Linked DNA regions of Homo sapiens: region 2 is linked to region 1. The links are contacts of gene promoters, found by promoter capture Hi-C in blood cells and fetal thymus (Javierre and others, 2016). All regions are on one chromosome and are shown on one strand. Each heading gives the region's core, a stretch centred on a gene start or on the middle of the fragment in contact. The rest is flanking DNA. Distances are from core to core; before and after follow the strand shown.

Region 1 (6,693 bases), core at 3,105-5,604:
AGTTGAAGGAGTCACACTTTTGGATTTCATAAAGTGCTACAAAATTGTAGTAATCAAAACAATGTGGCACTGGCTTAAGGATAAACATACAAATTAATGGAATAGAATTGAGAGTCCAGAAGTAAGCCCTCACATATATGGTCAACAGATCTACAAGGCTGCCAGGGTAATTCAATGAAGAATGAAAAGAATGTTTTCAACAAATGGTTCTGGGAGAAATTGATACCATACTGCAAAAGAATGCATTTGGGCTTTTACTTTATACCACATACAAAAGTTAACAGATACCACATTGGGGATTAAGCTAAAAAAATTAAAATATTTAAAAACCCCACAAAAGTTAGCTGACAATGGATCAAAGACCTAAACATACATGTAAGACCTACAATAATTCCCAGAAGTATAGGCAGAAAAGTTTCATGATACTGGATTTAGTACTGTTTTCTTAGGTGCAGTATCAAAAACATTGCAAACAAAAAATTATCAACATTAAACTTGTACTTCAGAGGACACTCATCAATATTATATAGTTTAGTATTCTAAAATATTCCATCAAGAAAGAGAAGGAAAACCTATTGAGAGAAAATATTTGTAAATCATATATATGATAAGGACCTCTCTTCAGAATATATAAAGAACTCTTGCAACTCAATGGAATTTTTTTTTTTAAGATAGAGAGTTTCGCTCTTGTTGCCCAGGCTGGATTGCAATGGCACCATCTCAGCTCACCGCAAGCTCCGCCTCCTGGGTTCAAGCGATTCTCCTGCCTTGGCCTCCTGAATAGTTGAAATTACAGGCATGTGCCACCATGCCTGGCTACTTTTTTGTATTTTTAGTAGAGACAGGGTTTCTCCATGTTGGTCAGGGTGGTCTTGAACTCCCAACCTGAGGTGATCTGCCTGCCTTGGCCTCCCAAAGTGCTGGGATTACAGGCGTGAGCCACTGCACCCGGACCTTTTTTTTTTTTTTTTTCGAAACAGAGTCTCACTTTATCACCCAGGCTGGAGTGCGGTGGCATAATCTTGGCTGACTGCAACCTCTTCCTCCCGGGTTCAAGCGATTCTCCTGCCTCAGCCTCCCGAGTAGCTGGGATTACAGGTGTGTGCTATCACGCCTGGCTGATTTTTTATCTTTTACGATGTTGGCCAGGCTGGTCTTGAACTCCTGGCCTCAAGTGATCTGTCTGTCTCAGCCTCCCAAATTGCTGGGATTACAAGCCACCGTGCCCAGCCAGAAAACAAATTTTAAAAGGGGCAAAGGAATTGAACAGAAATTTCTCCAAAGAAGCATACAAATGGCTAACAAAGCACATTAAATGATGCTGAACATCACTAGTGTTAGGGAAATACAAGTCAAAATCATGAGGTATCACCTCACACCACTAACACAGTTAACATGAAAAACACTAAAGTGTTAGCAGGGACGTAGAGAAGTTGGAGCCCTCATACATTTCTGGTGGGAATGTAAAACAGTACAGCCCCTTTCAAAAACAGTGTGGCAGTTCTTCAAATTCTTAGATAGTTACTGTATGGCTCAGCAATTCCATTCCCAGATATATACTCTAGAGAAATAAAAACCAGCTGAGCGTGGTGGCTTATGCCTTTGTGGAGGCCGAGGCGGGCAGGTTGCTTGAGCTTAGGAGTTTGAGACCAGCCTGGGCAAAACCCTGTCTCTACAAAAAAATACAAAAATTAGCTGGGTGTGGTGGCTTATGCCTGTGGTCCTAGTTGCTCAGGAGGCTGAGGTGGGAGGATCGCTTGAGCCTAGGAGGTAGAGGCTGCAGTGAGCTGTGATTTCTCAAAAAATAAAAGCCAGTATGCACAAAAAGATATATGTGAATTTTCATAGCAGCATTAATCACAACACCCCCAAAGTGGAAACAAACCATATGTCCATCAACTGAAGACAAATCATATATGGTATATACATAGAATGGAATATCATTCAGCAATAAAATAGAATGATCTAGGCTATAATACAGATGAACCTTGAAAAACGGGCTAAGTGAAAAAAGTTATTCACAAAAGATTGTATGATTTTTAGGCCGGGCATGGTGGCTCACGCCTATAATCCCAGCACTTTTGGAGGCCGAGGCAGGACTACTTAAGCCCAGGAGTTCGAGATCAGCCTTGCAACATAGTGAGACCCTGTCTATACAAAAATAAAAATAAATTGTATGAGTATATCCATATGAAATGTCTACAAAAGAAAAATCTGTAGTGATAAAGTAGGTTTGTGGTTCCCTGGAGCTTAAAGAGGAGGTAAATGGGTTTTCCCATTCAAAGATTTCTTTTAGTGTGATTAAAATGTTCCAAAATTATGTTTGAACAACACTGCGAATGTACTAAAAAATATTGAATTATATAGCTTTAAGTGGGTGAACTGTGTTGGTTATATGTGAATTGTATCTCAATACAGCTGGTCTAAAAACCAAAAGGGAAAAATCACAATAATAGCCACATCATTGGGAGCGTAAAAATTTAATGTCTATTAAGCATTTAGGGTAGTAAGATTTAAAAAACAGCTACCGCCAGGTGCGGTGGCTCACACCAGCACTTTCAGAGGCTGAGGTGGGCAGATCACCTGAGGTTAGGAGTTTGAGACCACCCTGGCCAACATGGCGAAACCCCATCTCTACTAAAAAAAAAAAAAAAAAAAAATACAAAAATTAGCTGAGCGTGGTGGCGCGTGCCTATAATCCCAGCTACTCAGGAGACTGAGAAAGGAGAATCCCTAGAACTCAGGAGGTGGAGGTTGCAGTGAGCCGAGATCGTACCACTGTATTCCAGCCTGGGTGACAGAGCAAGACTGTCTCAAAAACAAACAAACAAAAAAGCTACCATTATTATTATTATTACCACGGAATATTATTAGTTGATACAAAACCACTGGAATGAAAAGATTATGATCTTGATATTGGCATAAGTAAATGTATTACTGGCATAGAGTCTAGAATCAGATACAGGTATACATAGGAATTTATAGTTTAATAAACATGGAATTTGAAATCAGTAAATCAAGGACAGTTTATCAATATGTGGTACTACAATAATTGGCCGTGTTTCTGGAGGAAAGAGATATTGTATCCACTATCCCACACCACATACTGAAACACATTCCATGAGTATGAAAGATTTCAATGTTTTTAAAGTAATATGCTGCAGAAGAAAATTAGGAAATCTATATGTAATCTAGAGTTTATGAAGACTTCTTAATGCAAGAGAGGAAACTTAAAAAAGAAAATCTTTTTGAGTTGAAAAATTAACTGCAAAATAGTTACCAGTTCAGTAGATTCACAAAATATTTGATAATGTACATGAACAGTTCTTCATGTTAGTAAAACAGTGTTCAAAATAACTTTATTAACTCCATAAAGGCCACCCACTACAAAGCACAGCAAAAACGATTTCTGGAGAAACTAGAATCACTCCTGCAGAAGTGAATGCCTGATATCAGTGCTATTTTACAACGCGGTATTTTACAACGAGGCCCTGGAACTCACTGTAAGATCTCAGAAAACAATATATTAGTCAAAGAAAAAAAAATCAACATTTACAAAAAGTATCAGCATATTGAATACACAAAGGAATCAACTATTAGAATTTAGCATGGCGTCCAGATAAATGAAATAAGGGGAAATATTGGCCTCAAGTTGAATTGGGCCCGGCGCCGTGGTGCACGCCTGTAATCCCAGCCTTTTGGGAGGCTGAGGCGGGATGATTGTTGGAGCCCAGGAGTTTGAGATCAGCCTGGGTAACATACCTCAACTCTGGGGGAAAAAAAATTAGCCGGGCATGGTGGCCTGCGCCTGTAGACCCAGCTACTCGGGAGGCTGAGGCGGGATGATGGCGTGAGCCCATGAGTTTCGCCCCACAGCACGCCAGCCTGGACTACACAGTGAGACCCTGTCTCAAACAAAAACAAAATAAAAAACTAAAACTAGATTGAATGAATGGAGGAGATAGGCCATATCATGGACTGGCAGGATTATCAAAGGAAGCATCATTTTGAGGGTGCTAGGAACGTGGGAGGAGGTGAGAATAAAAGCTTTTTGTGAGCATTGTGCACATCCTGTGGGGGAGCCCCCACCTCTAACTTTGCCAACACCACCGACCCCACCCTAGGTTAGCCCCGTCCGCAGGGCTGGTTCTAACCTCAGCCTTGTGCTCTGGGCCCCTTTTGGCCTCCATCCCTCAAGGTGAGCAGACTCCAAGGCCTCCAAGGCGTCTCCGTAGCCACTGGGGAGTAAACCAGAATCTCTCTGCCTGAGGTTGTTCAGCTCGGCTGAGGTTGCAGTTCCCGAGCGCTCCTCCAGGTTTGAGGCTGGAGGCGGAAGTGACGTCACGGAGCGCTGCTGTGTTTTCCGGCGCTTTCTCCGCGCCGCCAAACCCGTTTTCTTCCTGGTGGCGTTTGGGCTTAATACAGCTTTGGCGAGGTCGGATGACGGGTGGGAGCCAGCGGTGGAAGGGGTGGCGAAAGTACCGGTTTGCCCCAGGCCGCCGAGGGGCCTCCTTAGAGAGACCTTGCCTGCTCCGCTCGCGTCCGCCGGGGCCGCGCGGGTCCTCCTGGCGCCGCCAGGTTCAAAAAGCCACTCGAGTTGTCACTGCGACGGCCCTGGGCCAGGAGCCGTTTCGGGATCTGTCGTAAGGGCGCTTCCTCACGATTTTTGCAAACACGGTGATTGCCGCTTCAAACTCTTCCAAAGCAATTCTTTGTGACTTTTTTTTTTCCAGAAACAACGAGTTTTCGTCGTTCGAATCAGGTTGACTGGTCCTTCATCCCCCCAATCTCCCGTACCTGGCGAGTCCAGCTCGTCGCGGTGAGTACTGGGGTGAAAGTTGGTTTCGGGGGCTTCTTCCTCCTGTTTTATCTGAGAATTTGTTTTTCTCTTTGCGCATCCTGTATTTACTTTTGACACTCTACATTCAGGTAGAAACATAAAGCTATTTTTTAGGTATCTGGGGTGTGGTTATTTCTCTATGTGAATATAAACGTTTGTAGACCAGAAGTCTTTCTACTGAAGAAAAGCAAGAATACTCAGCTATTCTTTTTATCTGAACTTCCTAGGCCTGTACCTCCCCACAGAGCTTCAAAACGGGCTTTTAGGAAGAAGGAATGGAGGCTTTGAAGTAAGTTGAACATTGCAGGCGTGACACTTAAGGTTTAAATGCTTGGTAATACGTGTCCTGTGGATAAAGACATGTCCTTTTAAAACCATAATACTATTACCCCAGAAAATTTAAAATGTTGTTAATATGTACCCTGTGTAAAAAGGTACAGTTCTCCACTTTGTTCCAATATATGGTTTTGATTGTTTTGGGATCTATTACGTATCCAAGTTTCATGTCTTTTAGTCTCTTTAAAACTAGCAGACACTGTTTATCCGTTATATTGTCTTTTTGCGCAGTCACTCGTTCTTTCAGAAAGTTATACATTTTGGTAGTTCTGATTGTATTCTGTGCCGTGTTTAAATGTATCCTTCATTTATTGGTGTATCCTGTAAATGGATGAGTGTCTGAATGGTTAATTAAGGCATAGTAAAAAAATTCAGCCTAGGGCTGTTCTTAGGGAGGTTGTAAACTAGTGGAGGAGGCTGTCATGTAACCAAGCAAATAAGTGTATTACAAATTGATGAAGGTCTGTAAGTAAAGTAGAGGACAGAATTATTTTCTCTATTTTTCTTTGGAATAGGCAATGCTAAGAAAAGAGTGATATGCAAGCTGAGACCAAAAATATGGTATGATTTAGCCATACTGAAGGGGAAGGAAATAAGAGCTGGGCAAAGCATTCTGTGAATTGGCTGACTCCACTTCTATGGTGAGAGAGAGGAGTGCATCAAAGATTACTCCCAGGTTTGACAGAGTCAGTATTCTTTCTTTGGTTGGGGAAACAATGTGGTGGGATAATTTAATCTTAAATGTATGACAGGAAATAGTAAGTGATATCTTTTGGGAGACAGAGTTTCGCTGTTGCCAGGCTCCAGTGCAGTGGCAGGATCTCGGCTCACTGAAACACTGTAACCTCCACCTCTTGGGTTTTCAAGCCATCCTCCTGCCTCAGCCACCCTAGTAGCTGGGATTACAAGTGTGCGCCACCATGCCTGGCTAATTTTTGTATTTTTGTATTTTTTTTTTTTTTAGTAGAGATGGTTTCAGCATGTTGGCCAGTCTGGTCTCAGACTCCTGACCTCAAGTGATCCACCCACCTCGGCCTCCCAAAATGCTGGGATTACAGGTATAAGCCACTGTGCCTGGCCAAAGTAAGTGATATCTGACAAATGATGTAAATCAAGGGAAAATAGGAGAAGCATGAATGTGTTTTAATTACATGAATAAGAAATTAATTCAAGGGATTAATGAGAATCAGTGCTTGATCACTGAAAAATAAGCTCTCCATGAAAATTCACTGATGTTAATTATTAGTCTTAGGAAATATGTATATTCATAAACAGACAAAACTTCTCTCGTTGTTTTTTTCAATTCACTTTTGGGTTCCTTCTCCTACCTAAATTAGTCCTTCGTTTCCCTGAAGGAATGTCCAGAGTAAGCACTCTGCGTGACTCCTTATAGACACTCATACACCTAGGGGGTTGGCTTGATACAATCCATGTAAGTAAATGACCAGAAAACTCACCTGCCAATGTGGGCTGCCAAAAAGCTGTGAAGGGGCCACATGGCCTGGAAATACAACAGA
Region 2 (6,693 bases), core at 2,231-4,730, about 28 Mb before region 1:
ACTAATAACCACTAATTTAGTGGCTTAAATCAATATAATTATGATTTATACCTCTGCTGGTCAGAAGTCTGAAATCAGTCTGAAAGGGCTAATATCATAGTATTAGCAGAGCCATGTTCCTTCTGGAGGTTCTAGAGGACTGGAGAATCTGTTTCCTTGTCCTTTTCTGGTTCTAAAGGCTGTCCACGATCCCTGGGGTGTGGCTTCCATCCATTTTCAAAGCCAGCAATCACATTTTGACTTGTGCTTTCATCATCACGTTTCCTTTTTTTACTCACCTGCCTCCCTCTATCACTTACAAATACATTGGGCCCAACCAGATAATCCAGGATAACCCCCTCTCAAGATCCTTAATTTAATTGCACTTCTAAAGTCCCCTTTGCCATGTAAGGTAAGGTATACATAGGTTTTGTAACGAAATTCAGGTCCAGACCACTTGTCACTTGAAAGTTTAAGAGATGAGCATTGGTGAAAGGATGGTTAGCTCTATTCAGGAATCCAACAACCCAGGGGAGGCAGTGAACTAGTGTTCAAAGACCGCCGAGTTCTGTCTCCATATCAGGGGTTTTTAAGGGAAATTAGAAAAAATGATGATCAAAACATTCTTGTGAAATGTGCAGTCTCAGGTCATTGCTTTGTTGGTCATTGCTTTCTTGGTCAGTGTTTTGTGGCCTTCTGTAGGTGCCATCAGCCTATTCTTATCAGGCTGGTCAGCCCATTCCCAGAGTTGTTAGTCTGCATATTTTAATTCTCTTATCTCTGTTGAAGGTCCTGTTTTCCTGAGACTGTTCTTACTGAATAATCTACAAAGTCAAGCAAAGTAATTATATTTAAGCAAGCAAGCTTTTCTTTATCATTGAGTCAGTACTGTTACTGTTTCAGGGATTAGGTTGTGGACATGTTTGGGGGGCCTTTATTCTGCCTTCTACAACCCTCTTGCCCAGGAACCAATGAGAGAGGATGATCATAGTCAAGTTCACCTTGGGATTTCCCGGAATGTACCAGTTCAGAGTGATGTCTCTGTGTGCCTGGACTGGCATCCAGTACCTTGCTATAGCCTAGGAACGTGGAAAATAGGAGCAAATAAAACATGCCAGATGCATACTCTCAAGAATTATAGATTCTAAGAGCTCAAAGACATTAGAGAATTTGTCTAATTCCTTTTTTTTTTTTTTTTTGAGACGGAGTCTCGCTCTGTGGCCCAGGCGGGAGTGCAGTGGCGCAATCTCGGCTCACTGCAAGCTCCGCCTCCAGGGTTCACGCCATTCTCCTGCCTCAGCCTCCCGAGTAGCTGGGACTACAGGTGCCCACCATCACGCCCGGCTAATTTTTTTTGTATTTTTAGTAGAGACGGGGTTTCACCGTGTTAGCCAGGATGGTCTCGATCTCCTGACCTCGTGATCCGCCCGCCTCGGCCTCCCAAAGTGCTGGGATTACAAGCGTGAGCCACCGCGCCCGGCCGAGAATTTGTCTAATTCAGATACTCCCAAATAAGCAGATCATTTTGTATGTAAAATGGAAATATGTCCATTCTGTTCTGTGACATAATATAACTTGATGAATCTGAGTCTTCAAAAAATTCTTAGGTTATATTCAAATTTTATTTTCTAACCTAGAGATTTGGTAAACATTGTTTGGAAAAAAATTCATCTTTTTAAAAGTATTTAAAGGCAGAAGGGAGAGCAAGAACTTGTATTAATTGAGAGTATATTAGTTATTGAGGATTTGGAAGCCTTATCTGCTGTGCAATTAAAACCTGTTGTGAAGAAAACGCTTGCAGTATTTTCTTTAATCAAGAAACTGCACACATCTGGCTTTTTAAATTCTCAGACCTTTCTGGATAATGGAATTGTTCTATTGTACAGAGGAAGTTTTATCTGTGGCAATAGGAATGATAGAGAATCAGGTTAATACTACTGTTTAGGCAACCAATTTCCTGTTGTTTTGTGTTACTTGCTTCCTTCAATTACCTCCTCCATTTTCTTCTCATTTCACTTCAGAATCATTCCTGTAGAATCATCCTGTAATGGATTTGTTGTTTCAGTTGTTGGTGACTTTCAGGGATGTGGCCATTGACTTCTCTCAGGAGGAATGGGAATGCCTGGACCCTGCTCAGAGGGACTTGTACAGGGATGTGATGTTGGAGAACTACAGCAACCTGATCTCATTGGGTAAGATCATCCTACGTAATATTCAGAATTTGTTCCCCATAATTTCTGCCTCATTCATTGTGAATTTCTGATCTCCATTCCCTAAGGAAAGGCTTACGTTTGAGTAGAAGTAGAAATGGACAGCTCCACCGTGTACCTTTTTATCTCTTATCCTTTAGACTGTCACATCTTTCTCTGTCACTTCCTGTCAGTGTCTCCCTTCTTTGATGCCAATGGACTAGATTTGAATCTGGGAATCCCCTAGCATGACCATGCACCATTTCCTTTCTTTTAAGCTGTATGTGCAGTCCCTAAGCCAAATATACTTTCCTTACTGGAGCAAGGAAAGGAGCCCTGGATGCTGATGAGAACCATGACATAAAGACAGAGCTCAGGTGAATAAAGGCTGGTCACAGTGTCAGCTATTGCTAATAATACAGCTGATCCGTAGGTGGCAGCACTTTGAGGTGTGTGCCTGAAGCTCTCTTCAAAGGCCTGTGGAAAGAAGGCTTGAGACATAGGGAGAGCAGGAAGGTTATGTGTGTGAGTTCCCCGTGGAACCTCCCTCCCAACTCCCATTTGCCACTCTTCTGTTTTACATTCCCTTTTTGTTTTAATAAGGGAGCTACCTTTGGTCTGATCTCTTTTGGGGACAATGCTTTTATCTATTTTTTGAATTACGTTTTTCCTGGTTGCTCTTTTATAGTTAAACTTGGATAAGTATCTCTAGCCAGCACATACGTACTGAGAGCTTGCTACGTTCATAGGTTAGGAGGACCAGGAATGATAGCTCAGGGGAGGTAACATTTGAATTAAGACCTGAATAAAGTTGGCTGTAAATCAGGGAAAGGTGTGTTCAGGCAGAGGGAAGAGAAGATCCTGAGAGAAACTGAGCTTCACTTGTTTGAGAATCAGCAAGAAGGCCAGTGTGGCTACTGAAAGTGGAAATTTGAGGTGAGGTTAGAGAAATAGGCAGAGGTCAAATCATGTAGGACCTTGTTGGTTGTTGCAAGCAGTGAGATTTTATTCTAAGTGTGATAGGGAGCCCCTGGCTGACTTTTTGCAGACAAGTAAAGGATCTTTGTTTAGAGGTCACTGAGTGCTATGTGAACAGTGAGGATAAAAATGAAAGCAGGAAGACTAATGAGAGGACTAGTTCAGAAGTTCACACTAGAGATAACAGTGGCTTGGAATTGGGTTTAATATGTGGAGGTGATGAGAACAGGCTATATTTTGAAGGTAGAATTAATACCTTCATAATGGAGTTATTTTGAAGATTGGCAATAGAGGCATCAGGGTTTGGAAGGCTGGAGAAGGAAGTCAAGAGTTACGTATTTGATATGCTCATTAGATATCTGTGTGGTGAAGTTAGATAAGCATTTGGAAGCCTGTGGGTGGAGGGGATAGTCAGGACTGAAGAGATAAATATGGGATTACTCTCTGTACCGAGGAACTGAATGAGATTATGGAGCGAATTGGTTTAGACGGAAGGCAAGGTACAGCTCAAGGACTGAACCATGGGGTGTTCCAACATTCAGTCAGGAAAACAATCTAGCAAAGGAAATTGAGGACTAACCTGAGTAACCTGTGACCTAGGAAGAGGGAATGCAGTGTATTGGAAGCCAACTGACAAAAGGAGGAAGCAGTTAGCTGAGAGAGATAATGCTAGGAGTTCAAGTAAGAGGAACGCTGAAAATTGGCTATTGGATTTGGCAGGATGAAGGGTGTTGGTGACCCTGACAAGGTGGGTTTGGCAATGAGAGGAACAAAAACCTCATTGTGGAGTATTTAAAAGAGAGTGAGAAAGAAGTAAGTCAACAATAAAAACTAGAGTGGGACAGTGAATTAACTCACCAGGCACTGTTGAAGGCCCATTTGAGGAACCCTCAAAGTTACAAATAGAGTTTACAATATTTTAGAAGGTTTTAAGAACACTGTAATAATTAGGGGAAAGAAGTGTGATTAGAGTTTATATATGCAGTATTATTTCAACTACATAAAAATCCATGGAACAAATTTAGGAAGGAAATATGGCAAAATGTTAATTATGGTGGTAGGAGAGAAAGAAAAGCAAAAGGTATAGACAGGAAGCATGCATACCTCTTGAGAAGTTTTGCCATTCTCCTGGTTCACCCTGCAGCTCCTGTCCACTGCAGGGTGAACCACAGAATCAGGAGAGGTTTTTGTTTTTTGTTTTTTTTTCACAGGAGAATCTTTAAAATGGTGGTAGGCTGGGCACAATGGCTCAAGCCTGTAATCCCAGTACTTTGGGAGGCTGAGGTGGGTGAATTGCTTGAGCCCAGGAATTCAGGACCAGCCTGGGCAACATAGCAAAACCCCATCTCTACTTAAAATAAAAATTAGCAGGGCATTATGTCACATGCCTGTGGTCCTAGCTACTTGGGAGACTGAGTTGGGAGGATCATTTGAGCCCCGAGGTCGAGGTTGCAGTGAACCATGATCACGCCACTGCATTTCAGCCTGGGCGACAGAGCAAGACCATGTCTCCAAAAAAAAAAAAAAAAGAAAGAAAGAAAGAAATGGAGATAAAATGCTGGAGGGGTGGTATAAAGGTAAATGATCTGGTAACTTCAGTGGTGGTGGTCAAAAAGGACGGTTGCTTGAAAGTGTGCTTTAAGACGTGTTGCTGTTATTGGTAATAACATCCTTTGACATTATGTATTATTATGTTAGTACAAGTTGTGCTAATCATTATTAAAAAGAGACTAATCTATTATGGATTTGGCAATTGGGGGTAGGAAACATGATGTTTGGGAATGAAATGATTAGAATATAAATAAATTGTCCTATTATTGTAGGAATAGTGAAAGATGTGAATAAATTTTAGCTTGTCTTTTTCCCAAGGGGGTCTCACGTTTTAAGGCTTCAGTGTTCTTTGGTGATGGATTTTAAGAATAGGCATATTTCAAAAATTTCAATTGAAGTAAATAATGCTAGAATTATTGAAAAAAATTATGTGGATGTTTCTAGTTTTGGTATTTAAACATAGATGCTGGTCACTTTTCAAAGTGTTATAGTGGAACTAATTCAAGTGTAATAGGTGTCTTAGTTCATACTGTGTTACTATAAAGGATACCTGAGGCTGGGTAATTTATACAGACAAGAGGTTTATTTGGCTCGTGGTTCTGCAGGTTGTACAAGAAGCATGGCACCTATGTCTGTTTGGCTTCTGGTGAGGACCTCAGGCTGCTTCCATTCATGATGGAAGGTGAAGGGGAGCCAGTGTGTGCAGAGATCACATGGTGAGAGGGGAAAGGTGACAGGCTTTTTTAAAAACCAGCTCCCTTGAGAACTAGTAGAGCGAGAGCTCAGTCACCCTTGAGGGAGGGCATTAATCTGTTCTCGGGGACCAGCCCCCATGACCCAAGCACCTCCCACTAAACCCCATCCCCCAAGACGCCATACTGGGGACTAAATTTCAACATGAGATTTGGTGGGTACAAACCACATCCAAACCATAGCAGATGGTATTTCATGTTGTATATCCATCAGTGTAGTTATTGTCATGGCATGCCTGATAAATCAAGAAAATGTTGTGGAAAGAAAGTCAAGCTAACACCTACAAATACAAAATGGATTTTGGCTCAGGTTGAGTGTATAACCTGAAAATATGGGAATCAGTGAATAAATCCTGTGATGGTGAAGACTGCAGCTATTGATAGAACATGTTAGAAATGTGCTGTAGCACAGTATATATCATGAGGATTGATGTCTGCTGATGAGTTAGAACAGTTCCTGTTAGGCCTCCAACTGTCAGCAGGAAAATAAAGCCTAAACCTGATAATATAGCTGGAGATCATTTAGTATTACCTCCATGTAGGGTTGCTAGTCAGTTAAATACTTTAACTCCTGTTGGAATAGCAATAATTATAGTAGCTAGTGTAAAATACATTCAGGTATCAATGTCTATCCGTGCTGTAAATATAGCCTCATACGATAAAGCTTATGAGCTAAATTGATATTATGGGTCATATTATTTCTATATAATCAAATGGTTCTTTTTTTTCCAGAATAATAGGTAGCAATATGTGAGATTATTCCAAAACCTGGTAAAATAAGAATGTACACTTTTGGATAGACAAAAATATCAGAATAAATGTTGGCCTAAAATTGGATCTCCTCCTCCAGCTGGATCAAAAAAAGTATATTAAGGTTATGGTCTGTCAGTAGTATGGTGATGCTGGTTGCTAGTACTGGGAGAGAGAGTAATAAAAGCACAGCTGCAATTAATAGTGGTGTCTGGTATTAGATATGGCTGGTGGCTTTATAACTGTAATAAAATTAAAATTAGTAGCTCTGAAAATTGATGAAACACCTGCAAAATGTAATGAGAAAATGGTAAGATCTTCAGAGGCTTCTGCATGTACTAGATCAGGCCATCTTAAGTTATTTTATACGGTGAAAGGTAGGGTCCACTTTCATTCTTCTGCATATGGCTAGCCAGTTATCCCAGCACCATTTATTGAATAGGGAATCCTTTCCCCATTGGTTAAGGGTCACCTGTTTTCCGATGTCACAGTAC

Evidence for each region. Contacts are between HindIII fragments. The CHiCAGO score rates a contact against its expected background, and 5 or more counts as called.
Region 2: a fragment that was not itself captured here is called in contact with the fragment with the promoter of ZNF266 in region 1 in 1 of 17 cell types (non-activated CD4 T cells); the score reaches 5.2 in non-activated CD4 T cells.

What each region holds. Positions count from the first base shown.
Region 1 is chr19:9,433,234-9,439,926 of GRCh38, reverse strand. It overlaps ZNF266 (zinc finger protein 266), which reads left to right and starts at 4,354. Exons shown (of 11, transcript NM_001370374.1): 1 at 4,354-4,643; 2 at 4,734-4,819; 3 at 5,068-5,129; 4 at 5,692-5,852; 5 at 6,141-6,259. LOC105372269 (a long non-coding RNA gene) reads right to left here and starts at 4,286. Exons shown (of 3, transcript XR_007067133.1): 1 at 4,155-4,286. RefSeq lists an enhancer at 4,434-4,563. The HindIII fragment of the contact is 21,418 bases long and covers 4,050-6,693 here.
Region 2 is chr19:37,579,449-37,586,141 of GRCh38, reverse strand. It overlaps ZNF571 (zinc finger protein 571), which reads left to right. Exons shown (of 4, transcript NM_016536.5): 3 at 2,045-2,171. ZNF571-AS1 (ZNF571 antisense RNA 1) reads right to left here. Exons shown (of 6, transcript NR_038248.1): 6 at 1-803. It also overlaps a transcript of ZNF540 not described here and the pseudogene MTCO1P41. Among named protein-coding and RNA genes, the nearest start is that of ZNF571, 12 kb to the left of the region's middle. The HindIII fragment of the contact is 5,270 bases long and covers 846-6,115 here.